Regions from separate parts of the Homo sapiens genome. Here region 2 is linked to region 1. The links are contacts of gene promoters, found by promoter capture Hi-C in blood cells and fetal thymus (Javierre and others, 2016). All regions are on one chromosome and are shown on one strand. Each heading gives the region's core, a stretch centred on a gene start or on the middle of the fragment in contact. The rest is flanking DNA. Distances are from core to core; before and after follow the strand shown.

Evidence for each region. The method cuts DNA at HindIII sites, captures the fragments that hold promoters and counts their contacts. A CHiCAGO score of 5 or more calls a contact.
Region 2: a contact is called between a fragment that was not itself captured here and the fragment with the promoter of ABT1 in region 1, in 1 of 17 cell types (total B cells). The highest score is 7.2, in total B cells.

The regions. Positions count from the first base shown.
Region 1 is chr6:26,594,213-26,599,145 of GRCh38, forward strand. It overlaps ABT1 (activator of basal transcription 1), which reads left to right and starts at 2,741. Exons shown (of 3, transcript NM_013375.4): 1 at 2,741-3,011; 2 at 3,702-3,898; 3 at 4,053-4,933. The coding sequence starts at 2,771. The coding sequence ends at 4,433. TRY-GTA6-1 (tRNA-Tyr (anticodon GTA) 6-1) reads left to right here and starts at 662; the gene lies at 662-750. RefSeq lists enhancers at 1,623-1,772, 1,873-2,032, 2,590-3,029. The HindIII fragment of the contact is 8,276 bases long and covers 1-4,933 here.
Region 2 is chr6:27,671,529-27,676,461 of GRCh38, forward strand. TRS-CGA3-1 (tRNA-Ser (anticodon CGA) 3-1) reads right to left here and starts at 1,003; the gene lies at 922-1,003. The HindIII fragment of the contact is 463 bases long and covers 2,357-2,819 here.

The DNA.
Region 1 (4,933 bases), core at 1,491-3,990:
AATTGTAGGGGGAGAGAGAAGTGTTGTGTTTCATTTACTTGTCCCATTACAATTGTGCAATATCATATGAGCCGCTCAATTCCTAAACATATGTACACACACAACGCACTTCTGTTTTGTGTCTCGAACACAAATTACAAATTATACAAATTGTGTAATTTTCCTTGCCCTTCAGAAAGGAGAATCTCAATGTTTCCGAAATGAACTGGGCAGTAACTTCGCTTCAAGGCGGTAGGTCCCCCCTCTTCAACCCAGTTGTCTAAAATAACCTTGTCTTTATTATTTACTTCCTATAGAGAGAGGAGGTGCTAAGCGGACAGGACAGCTGGACAACACGCGCAATAAGGGCAATGGTCCTATCTATTCTAAGGGAGGAGGACATGGAATATTGGTGTGGTTTTGTTTATTTTTTATTTTTTTGGACCTATGTGAAACATTTTTACAGTAAAACCCACAAATTTTAAATGTTCAAGAGAATTGTTCATATACTTGTATAGTCAGTATCCCTACTCAGATAAGAACATTTTAGAACATTTTGGAACATTTCTAATATCCTAGAAAATTTCCTCACGTTTCCCTATATTTTCAAAATGAACAAGAATACAGGATAGTCAAAAGCAATAGGTAAATCCTAAAGAATCCAAAACGAGGGTAATGACATCCTTCGATAGCTCAGCTGGTAGAGCGGAGGACTGTAGGGGTTTGAATGTGGTCATCCTTAGGTCGCTGGTTCGAATCCGGCTCGGAGGAGTTCCATTTTTAAAAGTGTCTCTTCTGGGCCTGAAATAAGGAAACTTGGAGAACGCATGTGCAGCTTGCTTATTCAGGAATTTGTAAGACGCTCAGAGAAGGAAAATAATCCACCCTGAAAATTGCTAACAAGGGTTGCTTCACAGACAGTTGAGTGGGACTCGATTTTCACCAAGTTGAGAAGGGATCATGAGGAATGTGGGGAACGGGAAGAACACGCTGCCCCAAGGCTTCATTTTTTTTTTTTTGTCGGTTTCACGGTCCTTTAGCACCCCCTGTTATATTGATACTTGGTGTGAATAAACATTTTATTAATGATAATTTCAAATATATACAAAGTAGAGAAAATAGCTAATAGCTACCATTAGCCACCACACTGGCACAACTTACCGACACTCTTGCATCCATCATGCCCCTCCCCTAGCTCCAGATCTTTTAAAGCCACCCCAACACGTGTTCTCATTTCATTAACTGTACTGTGTTTTGAAGATGTCAGTGTTTATAATTAAATAGCAGTAGACGGAGTTTATCGCTCTCATCGTACCCCGCTCCTCTTCAAAAAAGGAGCAGTGGACACCTACCTGACAGAAAGTTCTCTTCAATAAAGTTAATGAAACAGGCGTGTTTGAATTCGAGAAGTCTATTATTAGACTTTTAGACACTCCATGAAAGAGTGCAGGGCCCTGTTACTTTAGAAATATACTTGGGGACTGGCAAAAACTGTCATCTCTGATTTTAATAGTGGACACATTTACTCCCTGCTTCCATTCTCTGGGCTACTCTGCGCTCTTGGAGCGAGATGGGAAATTTTGTCAGGCCGCAGCAAGGACGGATTTATGTTGATAGTCATCAAACTCGCCCCGGGCTGCTTCCAGAAAGCTAACCGGATTACTTGTACGCGGTTCCCAGCACTGTCCTTTGCAGTCAGCTTGTCGCTGGCGCCGATGGGAAGAACTGAAACGCCTCAAGGGTGGGGACGGCGCCCCCTGCTGGTCGCGCCCTCGGGCGACGATAAGAGACTGAGGACCCGAGCCCGCGCGGGGAAAACTGCCCTGAGCTTGGCTTAGGGATGGTCCGCAGGCCGCCTGGTGGGAGCAGGACCGCCGTGGCCCGGTCCGTTCTGCGGTTGCGTAGGTCATAGAAGGAAAAGTGGTTTGTGATCTGATAGGGAATCTGAGGACAGACCCAGGGAGAGCAGAAATAAGCGCGCCGCCGGGGGGTCGCCAGAATTGGAGGCTTGTGCGCCTCTGACAAGTATTTGCAACATAAGTATGCATATGGATAATGTATCAATACACACGTGTAATAGATGCCAAACAAATTCTTCAAATAATTGTCACACATTTAAATTTTCAGACATTCACAAAATCAAATGTAAAATATTAAACTGAAAGTTCACAACTTAAATTTTCAAAAATTAAATCTAATTAAATTTCCAAAGTTGAACTGTTTTCAAAATTAAATTTTAAAATATTCAAAATTCCGAGGTAAATTTCCAGAAATAGTTAAAACCTCAAAACTCAAAATTTTTAAATGAAATTTATAAACTTTAAAAGGTGAGTCATTCCTCAGCTGGAATCGCACCCGGGGCCCTTGAATAAAATGCTATTTTGATCGCTAGAACACATAGAAACTTCTCTAAAATTGTTCTGCAAAATTCCCTAAAAAGCCGGCATCAACCCGCCTTTTAGCGTCTCGACAAGGCGTTCTATAGGGTAGGTTATATTTGGGGATCTGCCTTTTCTGGTTCTGCCTGTCCTGAGTTGGAGATCTGACCGGGAATCTGAGCCTAACCCAAGTTTCCCATCCCGCTTCCACGCTCTGAATCAGGCTTCCGACCTGACACACCACTTCCTCCCTCTCCCCTCGGCCTTCCCCTGGACCCGACTGTATTGCCCAATCATTTCCTTTCATTTGTCATCACCACCTTGGACCCGCCCCCTCGTCTCAGGCCGTCGCACGCGTTTTGCGTCAGTTGGCAAGGCACTTTACGGCCGTCGTGCCGCTCGTGTCAGTCAACATGGAGGCAGAGGAATCGGAGAAGGCCGCAACGGAGCAAGAGCCGCTGGAAGGGACAGAACAGACACTAGATGCGGAGGAGGAGCAGGAGGAATCCGAAGAAGCGGCCTGTGGCAGCAAGAAACGGGTAGTGCCAGGTATTGTGTACCTGGGCCATATCCCGCCGCGCTTCCGGCCCCTGCACGTCCGCAACCTTCTCAGCGCCTATGGCGAGGTCGGACGCGTCTTCTTTCAGGCTGAGGGTAAGTATGCAGGCCCTGACGGTGACAGGAGGAGGTTGTCGCTCGCTGGCGGGGTGCAAGCATGCATGTCCTGTTGCTTCGCTGCGCGAGGCTGAGGCACGAGTTGCTGGATTTTGGGGGTGGGGAGTGCGGTGCTTGGCTCCTGGCTGGTGAATCAGTCTGTGAGGATGCTGGGGTGGGCGGGCGGAGGGGATATGGGGAGAGTGGGTAGCGCAGTGTGTCTGGTGGTTCTTTAGTTCTCGGATTGTTACTATTTGTGTTCTTATCCCGGCTCTGTTCACCTCTCTTTCCGGACCTGTTTACTGGTTTGTTACATGAATACAACCTGAGTAAAAGTCTCGTCAGCTTTTCTACAAAACTGAACATAACTCTTTAGCATTGCTGCCTAGGTCAAGAAACTATTTGATCAACCGCCCCTCTTCTTTCCACCCTCAATTTTACATTGAGGCTGAGGACTTGTGCCGGTTTTAAGCAGCGTTCAGGGCTGGCCAGATTAAGGAGTGGACAATTAAGGAAAGAATTGAGTTAGCTAGAGGAAAGGGTGCGATTTACAGTTCCCTTCCTCCTGGGCAAAAACTCTTCAGGTGGGACTCCCACTGGCAGATGTGAAGAACGTTGCGGGCAGTGGGAGGTGCTTTTGAGTGAGTGCTGCATAGGCGTCCTGGACGGGTCTTTGTCTTTGGCGCGCAGACCGGTTCGTGAGACGCAAGAAGAAGGCAGCAGCAGCTGCCGGAGGAAAAAAGCGGTCCTACACCAAGGACTACACCGAGGGATGGGTGGAGTTCCGTGACAAGCGCATAGCCAAGCGCGTGGCGGCCAGTCTACACAACACGCCTATGGGTGCCCGCAGGCGCAGCCCCTTCCGTTATGATCTTTGGAACCTCAAGGTGAGAAGATAGATCTTTCTGCCACACCTCTCACCCTCCCTTCTCCCCAACTCTGGCCCAAGTATCCCCATGGCCTCTCATTGGCCTTGTCCCCTTGTCTCATCTTTCTCCCTAATCTGCACTATCCTGATCTTTTCTTCTTTTCTGCCCACAGTACTTGCACCGTTTCACCTGGTCCCACCTCAGCGAGCACCTCGCCTTTGAGCGCCAGGTGCGCAGGCAGCGCTTGAGAGCGGAGGTTGCTCAAGCCAAGCGTGAGACCGACTTCTATCTTCAAAGTGTGGAACGGGGACAACGCTTTCTTGCGGCCGATGGGGACCCTGCTCGCCCAGATGGCTCCTGGACATTTGCCCAGCGTCCTACTGAGCAGGAACTGAGGGCCCGTAAAGCAGCACGGCCAGGGGGACGTGAACGGGCTCGCCTGGCAACTGCCCAGGACAAGGCCCGCTCCAACAAAGGGCTCCTGGCCAGGATCTTTGGAGCCCCGCCACCCTCAGAGAGCATGGAGGGACCTTCCCTTGTCAGGGACTCCTGAGGGCCTGGGTGGCCCCTTCCATTTCCTGGCCCTGCTCTGCTTCCTGTCTACCTCATACTAGAATGATCGTGACTACCCGGGCAGACATTTTACTGTGTTTCTCAGACCAAGTGTCTACTGATGGCCCAAACATGGAGTTTTGTGGGCTTCCACTGTCCCCACTCCGAACTCCTGTATGTGCCTGGCTGAGTCACCTAATTCATACTGTCATACTAGCATAATTATGACTATTGCATATGCTTGTTTTGTTTGACTCTTGGCTGCCTACGTCTGTAGGGTCCCCTGAAAATCCCACTTCCTGCCCCCAGAAAGGGCCTTTATTTCCAACTAGGAGGATAATGCCTAGTCCAGGCAATCTTTCTCTGTTTAGCAGTCACAGGTGAGGGTGGTATTAGCATCTTTTTTATGTAGAAAAAATTGAGTTAATGGGGTGGACTGGGTTGGGAAGAAATACATTTCCTAATGTATTTATAGAAAATAAAAATATTTTTATGTGCCTT
Region 2 (4,933 bases), core at 1,338-3,837, 1.1 Mb after region 1:
AAGTAGCAGATGAAGACACTCAAATTTAACGAGGAGTCAAGAATTCGGGAAAGTACACATTTTTCAGAATCACATTTGACATAGAAACTTAGAAAAAGGAACTTTACTTGCATAGCTGTTCAAAGTAAGCAAAATAGTGGAAAATGAAGAAGTGCTTATAAGGAGACGAAGTTTCGTATGGGTTTAAGAAGGTGGTCAGAAGCCAAAATATATCCTCTTTGTGCCTCTGTTTCCTCGTTTATACAAAACGCTTTGAAGAGCAACTAATGCATATGACGGATTGTTATCATCCTAATTTTTTTGGCTCCCACCAGCTGTGAGATCAGGACAAATACAAAGTAAAGATTGCTGCCTGAGAATGCTTTAAGAAAGCTGTCATACTAGTAATCTAAAAGGGAAATTGTATTCCTAATATTTTCAACGTTGCACCTGTCTTGTATTTGCCATTATGATTAGATGTAAGACAACTAGTATCTTCTTTTTCTTTGAGACAGTCTCACTCTGTCTCCCAGGCTGGAGTGCAGTGGCGCGATCTCGGCTCACTGCAACCTTCGCCTCCCAGGTTCAAGCGATTCTTCTGCCTCAGGCTCCCAAGTAGCTGGGACTACAGGCGTGCGCCAGTAAGCCCGGCTAATTTTTCTGCATTTTTAGTAGAGACGGGGTTTCACCGTGTTGGTCAGGCTGGTCTCCAACCCCTGACCTCAAATGATCCGCCCGTTTCGGCCTCCCCAAGTGCGGGGATTGCAGAAGTGAGCCACCGCGCCCGGCCTTCAAATGTACATATTTCTTGATGTACATTTCCACAAGTGTGCGCGCGCTGTAAAAGCCACAGCGATAGCACTCACAACTTTCTATCCTAGTGAACTAATGAAAGCTAACTGATGAAAGTAGCAAATTGGAAATCTAACCAGAAAATGGCGACGCTGTGAGCAGGATTTGAACCTGCGCGGGGAACCCCCATTGGATTTCGAGTCCAACACCTTAACCACTCGGCCATCACAGCTCCGAGGACACTTTTTGTTTCAGAGGAAGTCGTGTTAGGCTCTTTGACTCTCTCGCTTTTTAATGTTCCCACGGCAGGTTAATGCTTCCGTGTTTGTATTTGTCACTTTTTATATATTTGTCTCTCTCTTTCAATAAGAAGTTCCTGGGAAACATAATAGTGTCTTAATCTTTACTTGTTATCTGACTCTCTATGCATCAGAAACTTATTTGGTGCTTAGTGGCTGCTTTTGTTGCTGGAACAAATCCCCGGAGACTCAGTTGTCTGTTCCCTATTCCTCCCTCCAGTTCATGAATTTTCTTCTCTCTTTACCCAGCACATGTTAGAGTCACGTTCTTGCTGCACTCTCAATTTCCCTGCCTCTCTCACTTTGTACTCCTTTGGCAAAGCCACAACCAGGGCAGCTAAACATGGCGGAAGAAAAACAATCAGTTGACAGACCTCACTTTAAATTCATGACAATGAATGTCAAGTAGGTGCTCAAGGCTACCAGGCAAATTGTACCATACGCGATTAGATTAGTCCACTCCCAATCCTCTTGTTCTAAGTCACTGTTTCAGCCGGATGCAGTGGTCCAAGCCTGTAATCCTAGCACTTTGGAGGCCGAGGCGGGGGGGGAGATCACCTGAGGTTAGGAGTTCGAGACCAGCCTGGCCAACATGGCGAAACCCCATCTCTACTAAAAAAAAAAAAAAAAAAAAGCCAGATGTGATGGCTCGCGCCTGTAATCCCAGCTACTCGGGAGGCTGAGGCAGGAGAATAACTTGAACCTGGGAGGCGGAGTTGCAGTGAGCTGAGATGGCGCCACTGCCCTCCAGCCTGGGTGACAGACAGTGAGACTCCGTCTCAAAAAAAAAAAAAATAAGTCACTATTTCATATCTCTCATGCCAATGCTCCAACACCTCCTCTCCCATCCTTGTGTTCAATTGATGACTTTACTTCCTACTTCACAATCAGAAGAGACCTTCCACGCACATCTATCACCACATTAATCCACCTACCAGCCTCTGAAGGACTGTCAGTGATCCTATAATGCCTTGACAAGGTCGCCGATTATCTCCACATGGCTAAAATCATTTCCCAGTCCTCACCTTACTTGGGATAGCTGCAGCTATTAATACATTCTCCTTCTTACAACACTTTCTTCAATTGACTTTAGGGTAACAATTTTCCTGGTTGTCTTCCACTTAGTAATAAGCATTTAAGATTCCTCCGTGTCTTTTCATGCTTTAATAACTCATTTATTTTTAGGGCTGAATAATATTCCATTGTCTGAGGTACCGTAGTATATTTATTCATTTACCTACTGAAAGACATATTGGTTACTTCCAACTTTTGGCAATTATGAATAAAGCTTCTATAAACATTTATGTGCAGGTTTTGTGTAGACATGTTTTCAGCTCCTTTGCATAGTTGCCAAGGGGTGTGATTGCTGGATCATATAATAAAAGTATGTCTAGTGTTGTAAGAAACCACCAAACTGTCTTCCAAAGTAGCTGTACCATTTTTCATTCCCACCAACAATGAATGAGAGTTTCTGTTGCTCCATAACCTCACCAGTGTAGGTGTGGTCAGTGTTCCAGATTTTGGCCATTCTAATAGGTGGGTAGTGAGTGGTATAATACAATTAAAACAATAATACATCTGTCTGTTTACATATAATGTGGAGCATCTTTTCTTATGCTCATTGGCCATCTGTATATCTTCTTTAGCAATATCTGTTAGGGTCTTTAGCCTATTTTTTTATTGGGTTGTGTTCCTGCTGTTTAGTTTTAAGAGTCCTTTGCATATTTTGAATAAGTTGTTCATTACATAAGCTTTTTGCAAATATTTTCTTTAATCTGTGTCTTCTCACTCTTCTGATATTATCTCTAGCAGAGTAGAATTTTAAATTTTAATGACGTTTATTACTTCTTTCATGGGACATATCTTTGATGTTTTATCTAAAATGTGATTGCTTAGTCATGTGTGGTGGAACACGCCTGTAGCCCCAGCTACTTGGGAGGCTGATGTGGAAGGATTGCTTGAGCCTGGGAGTCAGAGGTTGCAATGAGCCATAATCACATCACTGCACTAGGATGACAGAGTGAAACCTTGTCTTTAAAGAAAACAAAAAACCAGAGGTGACAATGACACTCTTTGGAACATTGCATAACTTTTGTACATTCTGGAGCACATAGATTTCTCTCGAATTGTATGATACGCATTTGTAGAAAATTTCTATTGAGTTGGATGATAAGCATTTATAGTAAACTATGAACTATAACTGTCTTTTCCTCCAAAACTGTGTATATGTGCATGTTTGTATGCACACAAGAAAAAAGGTTAATAAAGTAAAAATATCAATTAGTTATTCTCTAGAATAGTATCACATCATAATTATTATAGTTCTTTTCTGAAAGATTGTATATAAAAATAAGAATTATTCGAGTCGCCCAACAGAACATCTGTTTATATTTTTCTGCCAACTGGGACCCAAGCTAGGCTCCCGTGGGAGTCCTCCTTTTGACCTGCCCCTAGCGAGAGGAAGTACTGCCCACTCTCTGAGTGGGAGTCTTAGCTTTGTTGCTTTCTTGCTTTCTTTATGAGCAACTGTCTTAGGTTTTTTTTTTTTTTTTTGAAACGGAGTCTCTCGCTCTGTTGCCCAGGCTGGAGTGCAGTGGCGAGATCTCAGCTCACTGCAACCTCCACCTCCTGGGTTCAAGCAATTCCCCTGCCTCAGCCTCCGGAGTAGCTGGGACTACAGGCGCGTGCCACCTCGCCCAGCAAATTTTTTGTATTTTTAGTAGAGACGGGGTTTCACCATGTTAGCCAGGTTGGTCTCGATCTCCTGAACTCGTGATCCGCCCGCCTTGGCCTCCCAAAGTGCTGAGATTGCAGGCGTGAGCCACTGTGCCTGGCCTTTTGTAGGTCTTTTATCTTATTTCTTCTTCCATATGTTACTTCTGACAATCCTAAGATTATTAGAATCATTAGAATCCTCTCATGGGTGCCCATGTAGTTAATAAAAAAAACAAAATAGGTATGTGTCACTTTAATTATTTCTGATTTTAAAAATATCTTTTATTGATACTGAGGTAGTTTATGCTAATATTGGGCCTGATCCTTCATTAACATTTTCTAATTGAGTAATAAAATAAAATAAAATGTCATTGCCATATCCATGGTCATCTAGGTTTTCTCCTGTTATATTTTAGCTTAACAGTTTTGCATTTTATATTTAGAGCTATGATCCATTTTGAGTTAATATTTGTGAAGGGTGTGTCTGTGTCTAGGTTCACTGTTTTGCATGTGGAAGTTCAGTTGTTCAATTGTTTCCATTTGTTGAAAAGACTATCTTTGCTCTATTGTGTTGCCTTTGCTTCTTTGTCAAAGATTGACTACTTGACTACCATGTTTGTACAGGTCTATTTCTGGTCTCTCTAGATCTATTTGTCATTATTGTTTGTCATTGATCTATTTGTCTATTTTTTCACCACTCATTGTCTTTCTCCTTCAATTTCTCTTTTGCTGGTTCCTCCTGCTCTCCTCCATCCTTGTACCAGGATATCTCAGGGCTCAGTTTTTTTTTTTTTTTTTTTTTGACAGAATCTCACTCTGTCTGCCAGGCTGGAATGCACTGGCATGATCTCGGCTCACTGCAACCTCCATCTCCTGGGCTCAAGCAAGTATCCTGCCTCAGTCTCCCGAGTAGCTGGGATTACAGGAGTGTGCCACCACGCCCTGCTACTTTTTGTATTTTTAATAGAGATGGGGTTTTGCCATGTTGGCCAGGCTTGTCTTGAACTGCTGATCTCAGGTGATCCACCTGCCTCGGCCTCCCAAAGTGCTGGGATTACAGACATGAGCCACGACGCCTGGCCCACTTACGATCATTTTAAAAACACACTATATAACTTATTTATTTTGTATATTCTCTGTCTTCCCTA